Regions from separate parts of the Homo sapiens genome. Here region 2 is linked to region 1. Evidence: promoter capture Hi-C in human tissues and cell types (Jung and others, 2019). All regions are on one chromosome and are shown on one strand. Each heading gives the region's core, a stretch centred on a gene start or on the middle of the fragment in contact. The rest is flanking DNA. Distances are from core to core; before and after follow the strand shown.

What was found. Contacts are between HindIII fragments. The study calls those that stand out against the background at their distance.
Region 2: a fragment that was not itself captured here is called in contact with the fragment with the promoter of HSPB1 in region 1 in 1 of the 25 tissues and cell types used here (spleen).

The regions. Positions count from the first base shown.
Region 1 is chr7:76,297,226-76,303,922 of GRCh38, reverse strand. It overlaps HSPB1 (heat shock protein family B (small) member 1), which reads right to left and starts at 1,250. Exons shown (of 3, transcript NM_001540.5): 1 at 847-1,250; 2 at 58-121. The coding sequence starts at 1,210. RefSeq lists a silencer at 4,217-4,511. The HindIII fragment of the contact is 16,042 bases long and covers 1-6,697 here.
Region 2 is chr7:77,358,657-77,366,367 of GRCh38, reverse strand. It overlaps GSAP (gamma-secretase activating protein), which reads left to right. Exons shown (of 31, transcript NM_017439.4): 13 at 3,708-3,785; 14 at 5,467-5,544. Among named protein-coding and RNA genes, the nearest start is that of GSAP, 54 kb to the left of the region's middle. The HindIII fragment of the contact is 7,746 bases long and covers 1-7,667 here.

The sequences.
Region 1 (6,697 bases), core at 1-2,500:
CTTCCCTGACCCCACCCCCACGCCACCCACCCACCCCGACCTGGCGCCAGGACTCACGTGTATTTCCGCGTGAAGCACCGGGAGATGTAGCCATGCTCGTCCTGCCGCTCCTCGTGCTTGCCTTTGGGGGGAAGAGGGAAATCAGACTGCGGGGGAGGGGACTGCCTTTCGGCCCCGCTAGGCCAGAGGCCCCACCTCCTGCTTGGAAGCAGCCAGGACTGCAGGCTGGTAGGGATTAACAGAGGGGGTTGGGGATGGGGGCGTGCCCGCCGGTCTGGGCTCTCAGAAACTTCCGGAAAGTTCTTCGATTCAGAGTTTTGGGAGGAACGGAGCAGGGCGCGGAGCTGGGGAGTGAGCAGTACGCAGGCGCACTTGGAGCCGCGCACACGCCCACTCAGCGGCTAGAAACTGGCACCGCGCCAGGGAACTCCCCGCTTATCTGGGGATGGGGCTGTGGGTGGGAAGGGGACTCTGTAGAAAAGCGCATTTTCTCTCTTCATCGATGATCTTTAAAAAAATTTTTGTTTGCTTTTTTTTTGTAATGGCGCGGGGTCGGGGCGGGGGGGCGCGTCTCGCTATGTTGCCCAGGCTAGTCTTGAACTCCTGGCCTCAAGCGATCCTCCCGTCTCGGCCTCCCAAAGCGCTGGGATTACAGAGCAGAAAGCGCCCTTAGAAGCGACCCGCACTCCCAATTCCTGAGCAAGGGAATCAGGAGTCCTGTTTTTCCCGGTGCTGGGCCAACGTTTAACTCCCCAGGCCCCCGGGACCCCCGTTTCAACCGCACGCCCCCGGCCCTGCCCGCCCTGCTAGCCTCCTCCTCTCCCCTGCAGGAGCAGGGGGGCTCACCGGTGATCTCCACCACGCCATCCTTGGTCTTGACCGTCAGCTCGTCCGGGGCGAAGTGGTTGACATCCAGGGACACGCGCCAGCGGTCCGCAGTGTGCCGGATCTCCGAGACCCCGCTGCTGAGTTGCCGGCTGAGCGCGCGGCTGTAGGCGGGCGCGGCCACTGCGGGGCTCTCGATGGCGGCGGGGGGCAGGGGGCGCACGTAGCCTGGCCAGCTGCTGCCGCCTAACCACTGCGACCACTCCTCCGGCAGCCGGGGCAGCCCGAAGGCCTGGTCGAAGAGGCGGCTATGCGGGTACCAGTCGCGGAAGGGGTCCCAGCTGGGGCCCCGCAGGAGCGAGAAGGGGACGCGGCGCTCGGTCATGCTGGCTGACTCTGCTCTGGACGTCTGCTCAGAAAAGTGCGGGGCGCTGGGCTCGGCTGCGCTTTTATGCTCCTCCAGTCGGGTATTTTTAGCAGGCGGTGTTTGAGGTCTCTATTAATGGCAATGACCCGTTTGAGGGCCGCCCCTCCCCATGCACTCCTCCCCCAGCGTTCAGGGGCCGTGGGCGGGGCGAAGAGGGTTCAGCCCTCATCTGGAACCTTCTCTCGTTAAGGAAAGCAAATGAATTCGAGAGCGCGACGCTGGAGCCGTGCCACGGCAGGGCACTCGCCGGCCCTGGTGCTTAAGCGTTGCTGGCTGTGGCCCGTGGCCAGGGCCGTCCTTCTGTTAAGGAGGACAGAGCCAGACAGGTTGGGTTGGGGCATACAACTGAGAAGTGGCAGAGGCAGGATTGGAACCACACGCGTGTGAGATAGAATGTGATAAAAGGAGTCTGGTGCTTGAGCCCAGGAGTTGAGGCTGCAGTGAGCTATGATCTCACCACTGCACTCCAGCCTAGGCAACAGATCAAAGTCTTGTCTCTCAAAAAAATTTTAAAAAGGGGCTGGGTGCATGGCTCATGCCTGTAATCTCAGCACTTTGGGAGGCCAAGGCAGAAGGGTCCCTTGAGGCTAGGAGTTTGAGACCAGTCTGGGCAACATAGTGAGACCCTACTTCTACCAAAAAATATTTAAAAATTAGCTGGGCATGGTGGTGCATGCCTGTGGCCCCAGCTACTCCAGAGGCTGAAGCAGGAGGATCCTTTGAACCCCGGTGAGTAGAGGCTGTGGTGAGCTGGATTGCACCACTGCACTTCAGCCTGGGCTACAGAGCAAAACCCTGTCTCAAAATAAGTAAATGAATAAATACAAATACAAAAATAAAGCAGTCTGGGCTGGGCGTGGTGGCTCACGCCTGTAATCCCAGCACTTTGGGAGACCGAGGTGGGAGGATCACCAGAGGTCAGGAGTTTGAGACCAGCCTGGCCAACATGGTGAAACCCCATCTCTACTAAAAATACAAAAATTAGCTGGGTGTGGTGGCGGGCGCCTGTAATCGCAGCTGCTGGGGAGGCTGAGGCAGGAGAATTGCTTGAACCCAGAAGGCAGAGGTTGCAGTGAGCCGAGATCTCACCACTGTACTCCAGCCTGGGTGACAGAGTGAGACTCCATCTCAAAAAAAAAAAAAGAAAAAAGAAAAAAGCAATCTAGTAATCTGGTGTGGTTGTTAGGCGTGTGGACTTTGAAGCCAGACTGCCTGAATTCACATCTTTGTTCCATCACTAAGCAGATGAACTTGTGCAAGTTAGATTCTTTGTGCCTCAGTTTCCCCATCTGGAAAATAGAGATGATAATGATGGTAACAGTCATGCATTGCATAAAGATGTGTAAGTCAGCAAGGGACAGCAAATATGAAGGTGGTCCCATAAAATTATATTACTGGCTGGGTGCAGTGGCTGACATCTGTAATCTTAGCACTTTGGGAGGCTGATGTGGGAGGATTACTTGAAGCCAGAAGGCTGGAACAAGCCTGGGCAACACAGTGAGACCCCATCTCTACTAAAATTCAGAACAAATTAGCCAGGCATGGTGGCGTGGACCTGTAGTCCCAGATACTCAGGAGGCTGAGGTGGGAGGAGCACTTGAGCCAAGGAGGTCGAGGCTGCAGTGAGCCTGATGGTGCCACTGCACTCCAGTCCGCATGACAGAACAAGACCCTGTCTCAAAACAAACAAACAAAAACAATTACCGTGTTTTTACTGTACATCTTCTATGTTTTATTTATTTATTTATTTATTTATTTTGAGATGGAGTCTCCCTCTGTCGCCCAGGCTGGAGTGCAGTGGCCTGATCTAGGCTCACTCCAACCTCTACCTCCCAGGTTCAAGTGATTCTTCTGCCTCAGCCTCCTGAGTAGCTGGGACTACAGGCAAGTGCCGCGACACTGGCTAATTTTTGTATTTTTAGTACAGATGGGGTTTCACCATGTTCGCCAGGCTGGTCTTGAACTCCTGACCTCAAGTAATCCACCCGCCTGGGCCTCCCAAAGTGCTAGGATTACAGGCGTGAGCCACCGCGCCTGGCCATCTTCTATCTTTAGAAACACTAATACTTACCCTCATGTTGCAGCTGCCTTCAATATTTGGTGCAGTCATATGCTGTAGAGGTTTGTAGCCTAGGAGCAGTAGGCTAGACCATATGGCTTAGGTGTGTAGTAGGCTAGACCATCTAGGTTTGTGTAAGTCCACTCTGAGATGTTCCCACAATGATGAAATTGCCTAACAAGGAATTTGTTGAATGTGTCTGTTATTAAGTGACTCATGACTGTAATGGGTTGGCCTGAGGATTTGGTGACCTAATGCAGGTGATGACTTTGGCCCGGAGCCTGGTACATCATAATTATTGTTACCTGCCTGGGATTGAAGAGAGGGAAAAGGAAGGAGAATACATGGGGTTTGGCCATTTTCCCCCTTCCCCTAACAGCGCAGCTGGCCCAGATCAGAACCTCCATGGCACAGTGCTGAGAGGGGCCAGGAGGAAGATTACTGTCACATCTCCTACTATATGTATCTTTCCTTAAGAAGCACTGGTTGGCCGGGCGTGGTGGCTCCCACCTGTAATCCCAGCACTTTGAGAGTCTGAGGCAGACTTATTGCCTGGGTTCAGGAGTTCAAGACCAGCCTGGCCAACATGCCGAAACCCCGTGTCTGCCAAAAATACAAAAAATTAGCCAGGTGTGATGGGTGCCTGTAATCCCGGCTACTGGGGAAGCTGAGGCACGAGGATCATTCCAGGAGGCAGAGGTTGCGGGGAGCTGAGATCGCGCCACTGCACTCCAGCCTCGGTGACAGAACGAGACTCTGTCTCAAACAAAAAAGAAAAAACAAAAAAGAAAAAGAAACACTGGCCAGGAACCTCAAATGCCGCAAACTTGAATTAGTCTGGACTTCCTGTGTCATTCTGGGCAAATCCCCTCCTTTCTCTAGGCCTCAGTTTCCCTTTCTGCAGATTTTGATGCCCACATCACAGAGGGAGAGGGGAGCTCCAAGTAGTAGAGTCTGCACAGAAGTGCTTAGAGCCTGGAGCTTGCCCCTTGACCCTACCTCATCCATCTAAACACCAATGGGATCCTGGCTCCTATCTCCCAGCTTGGAGGGAGGGTGCTGCCCTAGGCTCCTGCCACAACCCTGACATTCCCTCTTTCCTGTCTTTGTAGGCATGGCCATTCCAGCCTTCCTTCTCCCCTGACTTAGGTCCCTGTTTTAGTTGTTGTTGTTTTTTTTTTTTTTGTCTTTTTTTTTTTTTTTTTTTTGAGCCAGAGTCTCACTCTATCACTCAGGCTGGAGTGCAGTGGCGCAATCTCAGCTCACTGCAACCTCCGCCTCCTGGGTTCAAGCGATCCTCCTGCCTCAGACTCCCAAGTGGCTGGGATTACAGGCATGTGCCACCATACCCGGCTAATTTCTGTATTTTTAGTAGAAACGGGGTTTCGCCATGTTGGTCTCAAACTCCTGACCTCAAGTGAGCCGCCTGCCTTGGCCTCCCAAAGTGCTGGGATTACAGGCATGAGCCACCACACCCGGCTAATTTTTGTATTTTTAGTAGAAACAGGGTTTCGCCATGTTGGTCTCAAACTCCTGACCTCAAGTCAGCCACCTGTCTCGGCCTCCCAAAGTGCTGGGATTACAGGTGTGAGCCACCGCACCCGGCCCTGTTATCCCTGGTTTTTAGACAAGGAAACTGCTGTGCACAGAGATTAAATGGCTTTCTGCTGTCTCCGGTAAAGTGCTCTCAGAGCCAACCTCCTGCCTCTCTAGTACCCAGGGCCTCCCACTTCTTCTGTCCCACTGTACTTGCTGTCCCTATCCTGGGACTGAGGCTCCACTCCTCCTACTTCTATGGGGAGCCAAGGCCACTGAAGTCTTGCCCTGCCCAGGCCCAGAATCGGGGCAGACTCCAGGCCACTCACCTTGATGAGCTGGGGAAGCAGCAAGTCCTCATGCCTTCTCTGAGCCTCAGTTTCCTTTTTGAGAGAGAGCTCATAAATGCCTTTCTCTCTCTCCTTTTTTTTTTTTTTTTTTGTTGAGACAGAGTCTCGCTGTGTTGCCCAGGCTGGAGTGCAGTGGAGTGATCATAGCTCATTGCAGTCTTGACCTCCTGGGCTCAAGTGATTCTTCTGCTTCAGCCTCCTGAGTCACTGGGACTACAGATGTGTGCCACCACACTTGGCTAATTTTTAAATTTTTTGTAGAGACAGGTGTCGCACCATGTTGCCCAGACTAGTCTTGAACTCCTGGCCCCAAGAGATCTTTCTGCCTAGGCCTCCCAAAGCACTGGGATCACAGGCGTGAGCCACTGCGCCCGACCTAGATGCCTTTCTTTCTTTCTTTTTTTTTTTGAGACGGAGTCTCACTCTGTCACCCAGGCTGGAGTGCAGTGGTGCGATCTTGGCTCACTGCAAGCTCCGCCTCCCGGGTTCACGCCATTCTCCTGCCTCAGCCTCCAGAGTAGCTGGGACTACAGGCGCCCACCACCACGCCCGGCTAATTTTTTGTATTGTTTTTTTTTTTTTTTTAGTAGAGACAGGGTTTCACTGTGTTAGTCAGGATGGTCTTGATCTCCTGGCCTCGTGATCCACCTGCCTCGCCTCCCAGAGTGCTGGGATTACAGGTGTGAGCCACCGGCCCTAGATGCCTTTCTGTCTTACCCACCTGCTCCCCATCAGGGAAGAGCTGGGGCTGGACCATGAATCTGAGATCACTCCTGGAAAGGCCTCTGAACTCCTGGGGCTCTCGGGAGCCAATGGTGGGAGGCAGACAGGACCCCTGCCTTCTACCTCACCTCCCTGGCTGGGTCATTGTCATGAGCCCAGTGGGTCTCATTTGGGAGCTCCTGGTTGACACCCCATGGGACAGCATCAGAAAGCCCCAGGTTTTTGCTCCCCAGTGCTCCCAGCCCCACCCATCCCCAGCTGTATAAAGTCGAGGTGAGGTCAGGAGCCAGGGAGGGCCCTCATCTGCCTCTGCCTGCTCACCTTGGCCCAGACGGGAGCTGGGGGTGCCCCACCCCAGAGGGAGCTGTCAGGTGTGGTTATAAATGCTTCCAGGTGTGGCTCTATCAGGCCCAGCCATGCTCTGGATGGGAGCTGCCAGCCCTTTGTAGACACAAGCTCCCTTCATCTTGCCTGAAACCAGGACGGACTGGATCTATTCCTGCTGCCTGAGAGATTGTGCAACTCAAGGCACCAAACCCACACACTCTGCTCACTCCCTCGGAATTCACGTTCATCTTCAAGGGCTCAGTTTTGTTTTTTTTGAGATGGAGTTTTGCTCTGTTGCGCCGGCTGGAGTGCAGTGGCACAATCTCAGCTCACTACAACCTCTGCTTCCCAGGTTCAAGCAATTCTCCTGCCTCCTGAGTAGGTGGGACTACGGGCGTGCACCACCACGGGCTGGGCGCGGTGGCTAACAGCTGTAATCCCAACACGTTG
Region 2 (7,711 bases), core at 2,545-5,044, 1.1 Mb before region 1:
CAAAATTTATAAAAATTCTGAAAGAAAACGTAGGCAATACCATCCTAGTCATAGGAATGGGCAAATATTTCATAACAAAGACATCAAAAGTAATCACAAAAGAAGCAAAAATTGACAAATGGGATCGAATTAAACTTAAGAGCTTCTGCACAGCAAAAGAAACTAACAGAGTAAACCAAACGACCTACAGAATTGGGAGAAAATATTTGCAAACTATGCATCTGACAAAGGCCTAGTATCCAGCATCTACAAGGTACTTAAATTTATAAGACAAAAACAACTCCATTAAAAAGTGGGCAAAGGACATGAACAGATACTTTACAAAAGAAGACATGTGGCCAGCAAGCATGTGAAAAACTCAGTATCACTGAGGATTAGAGAAATGCAGATAGAGGTTACAATGAGATACCATCTCATACCAGTCAGAATGGCTATTATTAAAAGTAAAAAAAAAAAAAAAAAAAAAAAACCCACAGTTGCTGGCAAGGTTGCAGAGAAAAGGGAAGACTTATACACTGTTGATGAGAGTGTAAGTTAGTTCTACCATTGTGGAAAGCAGTATGGTGATTACTCAAAGGCTAACAGCAGAACTACTATTGGACCCAGCAATCTGATTACTGGGTATATACTTAGAGGAATAAAAATCATTCTACCATAAAGATATACGTATGCAAATGTCAATTGCAGCGTGATTCATGTTAGCAAAGACATGGAATCAACCTAAATGCCCATCAGTGACAGATTGGATAAAGAAAATGTGGTACATACATACCGTGGAATACTGTGCAGCTATAAAAAAGAATGAGATCATGTCTTTTGTGGGAACATGGATGGAGATAGAGGCTATTATCCTTAGCAAACTAACGCAGGAACAGTAAAACGAAATACCTAGTGTTCTCACTTACAGGTAGGAGCTAAATGATGAGAACTCCTGAACACAAGGGAACAACAGACACTGGGGTCTTCTTGAGAGTGGAGGGTGGGAGGAGGGAGCGGAGCAGAAAAAGTAACTATTGAGTACCAGGCTTAATAGCTGGGTGATGAAATTATCTGTAAAAATAAACCCCTGTGATATGAGTTTACCTATATAACAAACCTTCACATGTACCCCTGAACTGAAAATAGAAGTTAAAAAAAATTCCTGTAGTCCCAGCTCTTTGGGAGGCCAAAGTAGGAAGATCACATGAGCCCAGGGAGTTCAAGACCACCCTGGGTAACATAGACTCCATCTCTTAAAAAAAATAAAATAATTAGCCAGGCACACATGTAGTCCTAGCTATTTGGAAGGCTGAAGTGGGAGGATTGTTTGAGCCTGGGAGGTTAAGGCTACAGTGAGCCATGTTTGCACCACTGCACTCCAGCCTGGGCAACAGAGTGAGACTTTGTCTCAGATAAATAGTGCTTCAGTCATATTATCCACATTTTGAGTGTTCAGTGACTACATGTGGCTAGTTGCCACCATATTGGACTATACAGGTATATAACATTTCCATTGTCAAAGACAGTTCTGTTGGATAGCTTCACAGAGCCTGTGTACATACCATTTCAACTTGCTGTGTCTTTTTTTCCCTTTGGGATTGGGTGGGGCAACTAAGCATGACCTAACAATTTGGAAATATTTGCTTATAAGTTCTGGATATGGTTCTTAGAATATGTAATTAGGTACATTTATTCTACATCTCATTTTATTTTATTATTACACTTTAAGTTTTAGGGTACATGTGCACAATGTGCAGGTTAGTTACATGTGTATAAATGTGCCATGCTGGTGTGCTGCACCCATTAACTTGTCATTTAGCATTAGGTATATCTCCTAATGCTATCCCTCCCCCCTCCCCCCACCCCACTACAGTCCCCAGAGTGTGATGTTCCCCTTCCTGTGTCCATGTGTTCTCATTGTTCAGTTTCCACCTATGAGTGAGAATATGCGGTGTTTGGTTTTTTGTTCTTGTGATAGTTTACTGAGAATGTACATCTTACTTTTTTTCAAAATGAGAAAAACTTTCATTCTCTAAAGGATGGAGTGCAGATAGTTTGCTAGAATGGAGGTTATGATCTATGTTGCCATCATGTTCATTTCCCAGGATAGAATCCTAAAAGAATTACTGGGTGAACAGGTATGAATATATTTAACCCTCTGTGAAAGAATTTTTCTGAGATATTGTGTTAGTTGACTCATTCACTACTATTTGAGAATTGTGTAAGAAGCACATGCTCCCTTGACAGTATTTCATTATCATTTAAAAAACTACTTCTAAAGGAAAATTATGGTACCTTGTTTTAATTTTTATTTATTACTAGAGAATCTAAAGTCTTTTTTTTAAGCAATTTCATGTTCCTTGTGATTATAGTATATAAAAGAATGGATAAACAAGTAGTTTTTTGCTGATAATGTTTACTGTATGAAAGCAGTCCAAGTGGTATATGAGACTTTTGTAACTCTTATAATTATTATTTTGTTTATACTTTAGTGATAGATTACTTTTATTCTCAGTGAGTCATGAGTCAGCTGTAATTGTAAAGAAAAGTTGTTATTGTGTGCTCAGTAACCGTAACAGTCATTTTACATCTAATAGAATTGTTACCATGTTATCTGATGAAGTTATTCTTTTTTGCTATTTTGTGTTTAAGATAATTGCAATAAAATGTACTGCTGACAATACTTTGCAGTGTTAAATGTCATTAAAAAGTCATAATTGATAAATATTATAACAGAATACTTATAAATGTCCTTGAATAGCCCTCTTAGGGGAAACTGACTTTTTTTCTACCACGATTCTTTGATAAAGAAACTAATGAAGGAAAGTAGAGGAAACATTGAAATCCACTGAAGTAGAGTAGCGATTGAATTCACACAGCTAGTTAACGTTAGCTCTGGGGCTAGAACTCAGGTTTCCTGACTCCTTGTCAAGTTACTTTCTACCTGTCAATCTCCTATTTCAGTTAATCACATAAATGATAGACATACCTGTTTAAGCATACTGTCCTCAATTGTATGTAGGTCACTGATGGACATTAGTCCATACAGCAGCAGCTGCTAGAGATAATGTACAGTTTCATGCGTTGAGAGAGGTGGGGAAAGTTGAGGGTGTTCTGGAGTGATGGGGTAAGTGAAGGGGGTCAAGACTCACCTGGAAAGGCCACTCTATGCCAAGAGCTCTCCTTTGGCCTTGGGCCAATGCCTTCAGTGACTCAGTTACGGATGGATATGGACTCACATGCCACATTTGTTTTCACTGACCCATAAGATAGATCACACTTTGCCTTTCAATCAAGATAAACTAGAGACTGGTAACTTTCTGTGAAATGAACACATTTTTGATAAACTGGTGTTCACAGCTGTTAGTAATAATTGCAAGGTGACAAGCTAGATAAGGGAGGACAATGCATGCTTACTAGGAGAATCTCATGAAGCTTTGGAAACTGTCTAGAACCCCATTATTTCATATGCAGGAGTATATCTGTGTTCATTTTCCTATCCTTCAATAGCCTGCCACAATATGTTGCTATATAGTGTGCACTAAAAAATTACTGCTTTGAAATTTCTTAGCAACTTGTTAATAGACCACTTCTAGGACTTGGGAATAATCTATGAGGTAAGATGAGACAGGACATCTAAAGGAATAGAAGTAAGTTTAAGTGGTTTAGGAAACTTTATTTATGACATAGATTCTGTTAAACTCTACTAAATATCCTTTTTCTTCTAGGAAGTTTGTGTGTATGTTACAGCCCGAAGTGTGCCTCTTGGGGACAAATCACATATTCAGTGTTTTACATTCATAAAGGTACTTTTCATGTCTTCTTTGTTACTTTTACATAATAACTTTTTCCAAATAGTAGCAAATTAGATAGCTCTTAACAGTGTTATTAGTAATTTTTTGGAGACAGGGTCTCCCTTTGTCACCCAGGCTGGAATGCGGTGGCATGAATACTGCTCACTGAAGCCTCAACCTTATGGTCTCAAGTGATCCTCCCTCCTCAGCCCACCAAGTAGCTGGGACTACAGGCGTGTGCCATCATGCCTAGCTAATTTTTGTATTTTTTGTGGAGATGGGGTTTCACCATGTTGCCCAGGGTGGTCTTGAACTTCTGAGCTCAAGTGATCCACCCGCCTCAGCTTACCAAAGTGTGGGGATTATAGGCATGAGCCACCATGCCCGGCTGAGAGTATTATTACCATGGAATCAATTTTTATCAGTTCATTCTATATCTGTATACTTACAGGATATATATTTCCTGAAGAAAGTTGTCAATGGTGAGTATCAAGTTAGCTAGTTATTTTTATATATCATATATTTTTATCCTGGCCTATATATTTTTCTAGGCTTGTGGACCAATCCTAAGGAAGGTATTTATCCAAAGTGTGTTTATTTGCTTTTTAGTTATCGCTATTTGGAAAGTATCTATAGATTTAACTTACAGAGTTAAATAGGGTTTCAGTTAAAAGCATCCATGATCTCAGACCTCAACAGGTTTTAGATCTAAGATACATTTATTCCATTTCACACATCTATGGCCCAAGATATTGATAAACAATCTAGGGAGAAGCAGTCAAATGCCTAACTAATTTCTCCTGGTTCTGTAGTCAATCACAGTGTGCCCTGTAGTAGTTTTAGTTTGAACCATGCTAAGGAGTTATTGTTTTGCTTGTTTAATTCCTTAAAATGAGTATTTGTGCAGTATATACTATGGGTGTATTTAAATTTTTTTAAAGATAAAGATTTTTCCAATATTTAAAAACAATTATGCCAAGCCACACCAGAGCTGCTTATTCTATAGATGGACCTGATATTACCTCCTCAGGTTAGAGATTAAGGTAAAAAAGTTTAAGAACTTAATGGAGAAGCTAAAGTAACTTCAGAACTAGACATATATTCTATTCATACTTAAGTTGTATAAGTTTGAGATTTTTGTGGAAAATTTTTCACACATTTTTCTAATGGTTAATCTATTGATCAAAGGCAGTAAATAAAACTTTTCTGAAGATTAAGAGTTAGAAAGTAGAGAGGAAAGGCCAATATACTGAGGTTATTAGCTCGACTAATTCCCTTCCTACCTAAAAGTGGGATTTGTAAGTGATTTGGAGAAGTCTCAGAGGGTCTTAATGACTGCACGTGTGTGGCGGTGAGCCTTGAGGAATGTGGGCCAATGAGCCATGTGGTCATCTCTATCTCTTGGATCTTTAAGTAAATTCCTTCAGATCCTCTCCTCCCTGAACAATCCACCTGTCATGGTCTAAGATTATAATAAGCCCAGAGCAACTACTGGAGTGTGACTGCACTCAGATAATCTGCCTTCAATGCTGGTTTTTGGAGAATGAGGGGAACCATGAAATCTAGAAGTCTGAAGATGCCTGCTTACCAGTTTCATGGTCACTGAAAATATAGTGTGTTACATAGTCACTGCCTTGGGTGGAGTTCCAGTTCTTTGTTTAACATTCTCTGGCTTCATATTCTCTCTTTGCAGGACACAGCAAGACCTTCACCACTTCTCTTGAGAATGTTGGGTCACACATGACAAAGGGCATTACTTTTCTCAACCTTGGTGAGTGATGGAGAGATCACACCCCCTGCTCTGAACACTTGTTCCTAGGCATGGTATACCTCAGCCTTCTATACTATCCCATTTCTCATGCCTCTTTGAGACTCGGATTGTGATGACAATCAATGACCCACTTGAAATCTGATGAGAGAAGATTTTCTCTGGAACACACCCTTGCCTCTCAACTCCTTAGCCTTTGGCTTGAAAAGGGTTGGGGGTTGTATCTTCCCTTTTTAGAGAACCTAGGCTGTGAGCTTTCTTATGTTTTTTGGTAGCAGCCTAAAAAGCTATTTGTTAACATAAAAATGATAACTTGTATGAGATGTTCCCAAATAGCCCATGAGAAATAATACATCATGTTATCCCTTGATTATAGAGAGGATGGGGCCTCTGGGAAATTGTCTATTTCCTGTTGCTAATCTTGAAAAGTTTCCAAGTCCCATTAATGATTTATGGATCAGCTTGAGTTGTTTTCATTGAGTAAATATGGCGAAGGGAACCTGAGTATAATGAGGAAAATAAAGAAAGGGTTTGTTGTACCTCCCCACTGAAAGCTGCTTTTCCATGCCAGTTAGGATGTGGGGCACAAAGTTTAGCACAAGACTAAGTAATGATTTACTTGCTTACATATGGAACATGGCATATGGAACATTTCCTTTAAAAAAGGAGTTTCAGGTTTAGAGCATGTAATTCTTTGATATCTTTTTCCATCCCTATTCCACAGTCCATCCACTGTCATGATGCATGTTTGAGAGAGTGCAATGTGAGGAAACTGAGCAAAGTTATTTTTATTTTGAATGATACCATTGATGAGGTTGGATACTTACGCTGAGTGGGCCAGTATGGGCAAATTTTAACATGATCTCTGAATTTGTGGGAAATTGCCTTAGGGAAGCCTGGTTCTACTGCTTCCTGTGATAAGAGAGAGAAATATTATAGAAGGTTTCCTGGGTCTGGGACTTGATTCTTATCAGCAATGCTTTATCAGCATCCCATCTCAAGAGTGATGTGGGAAACTTTCCACTATGAAAACAGCACTTTGTGAGGGCAAAGGTATCCTTCCTTTTTTTACCCCTGGGAATGACTTGCAAAGGGCAGGCAAGATTTAATCTGTGGTCTTTAGCGTGTGGAGAGGCCAGAAATATAAGCTTTGTAAAAATAGGCTATCTTAAACATGTTGTCTTTCCTTCTTAAGCATATTTTATAGGCACAAAATCATAGCCCAGTTTAAAACTGCTGTACAGGTAATTTTTATGACAACAATATTGTTTTGAGTAATATATTTTTTGCTATTACGTGCAATTTCCCTGGACTGTCACCCTATTAAAATGGGCTTATATTGATTAATATATTAAAGAATAATTTTTTGAAAATTTCCATGAACCCCAGACACTTCTATGTAAGAAAGATATGTTTATAAATAATGAGCTACTATTTATTTAATGAATAGTGTATGTTAAGTATTTTACTTGTTATCTTGCTCCCTACAGCAATTCTGATTGGTGATATTATCTCCATTTTACAGATAATGAAACTGAGGCTCAGAAAGAGTGAGCTCTGTGCTTAGGCTTACCTCAGTGTCTTTTATAAGGGACACTAGATTATTAATAGTTTCTTTTTTTTTTTGAGATGGAATCTTGTTCTGTCTCCCAGGCTGGAGTGCAGTGGTGCAATTTCAGCTCACTGTAACTTCCGCCTCCGGGGTTCAAGGTTCCCACTGCAACCTCCACCTCTGCCTCAGCCTCCCAAGTAGCTGGGATTACAGGCGCACGCCACCATGCCTAGCTAATTATTTTGTAGTTTCAGTAGAGGCGATGTTTCACCATCTTGGCCAGGCTGGTCTTGAACTCCTGACCTCGTGATCCACCTGCCTCGGCCTTCCAAAGTGCTGGGATTACAGGCGTGAGCCACTGTGCCTAGCCTATTAATAGTTTCTTTAAACATTTTGTAATTTTTGTTTTCTTAGCATTTTATTTCAACTAAAACTTTATCAAGTGTTTTGTTTAGAGGTTTTGTTCTAGTATTTTTCTGTAATGCAATCCAGAATAAACTGAGAGAAAATGAAGTGAAATGATCCCATCAGTCACCCAAACGGTATGCAACATAACTGCCCAAACTAGAAAAGATAATTAGTGTTGTCAGTGTTACAATCCTAGAGTACTTAATTTAA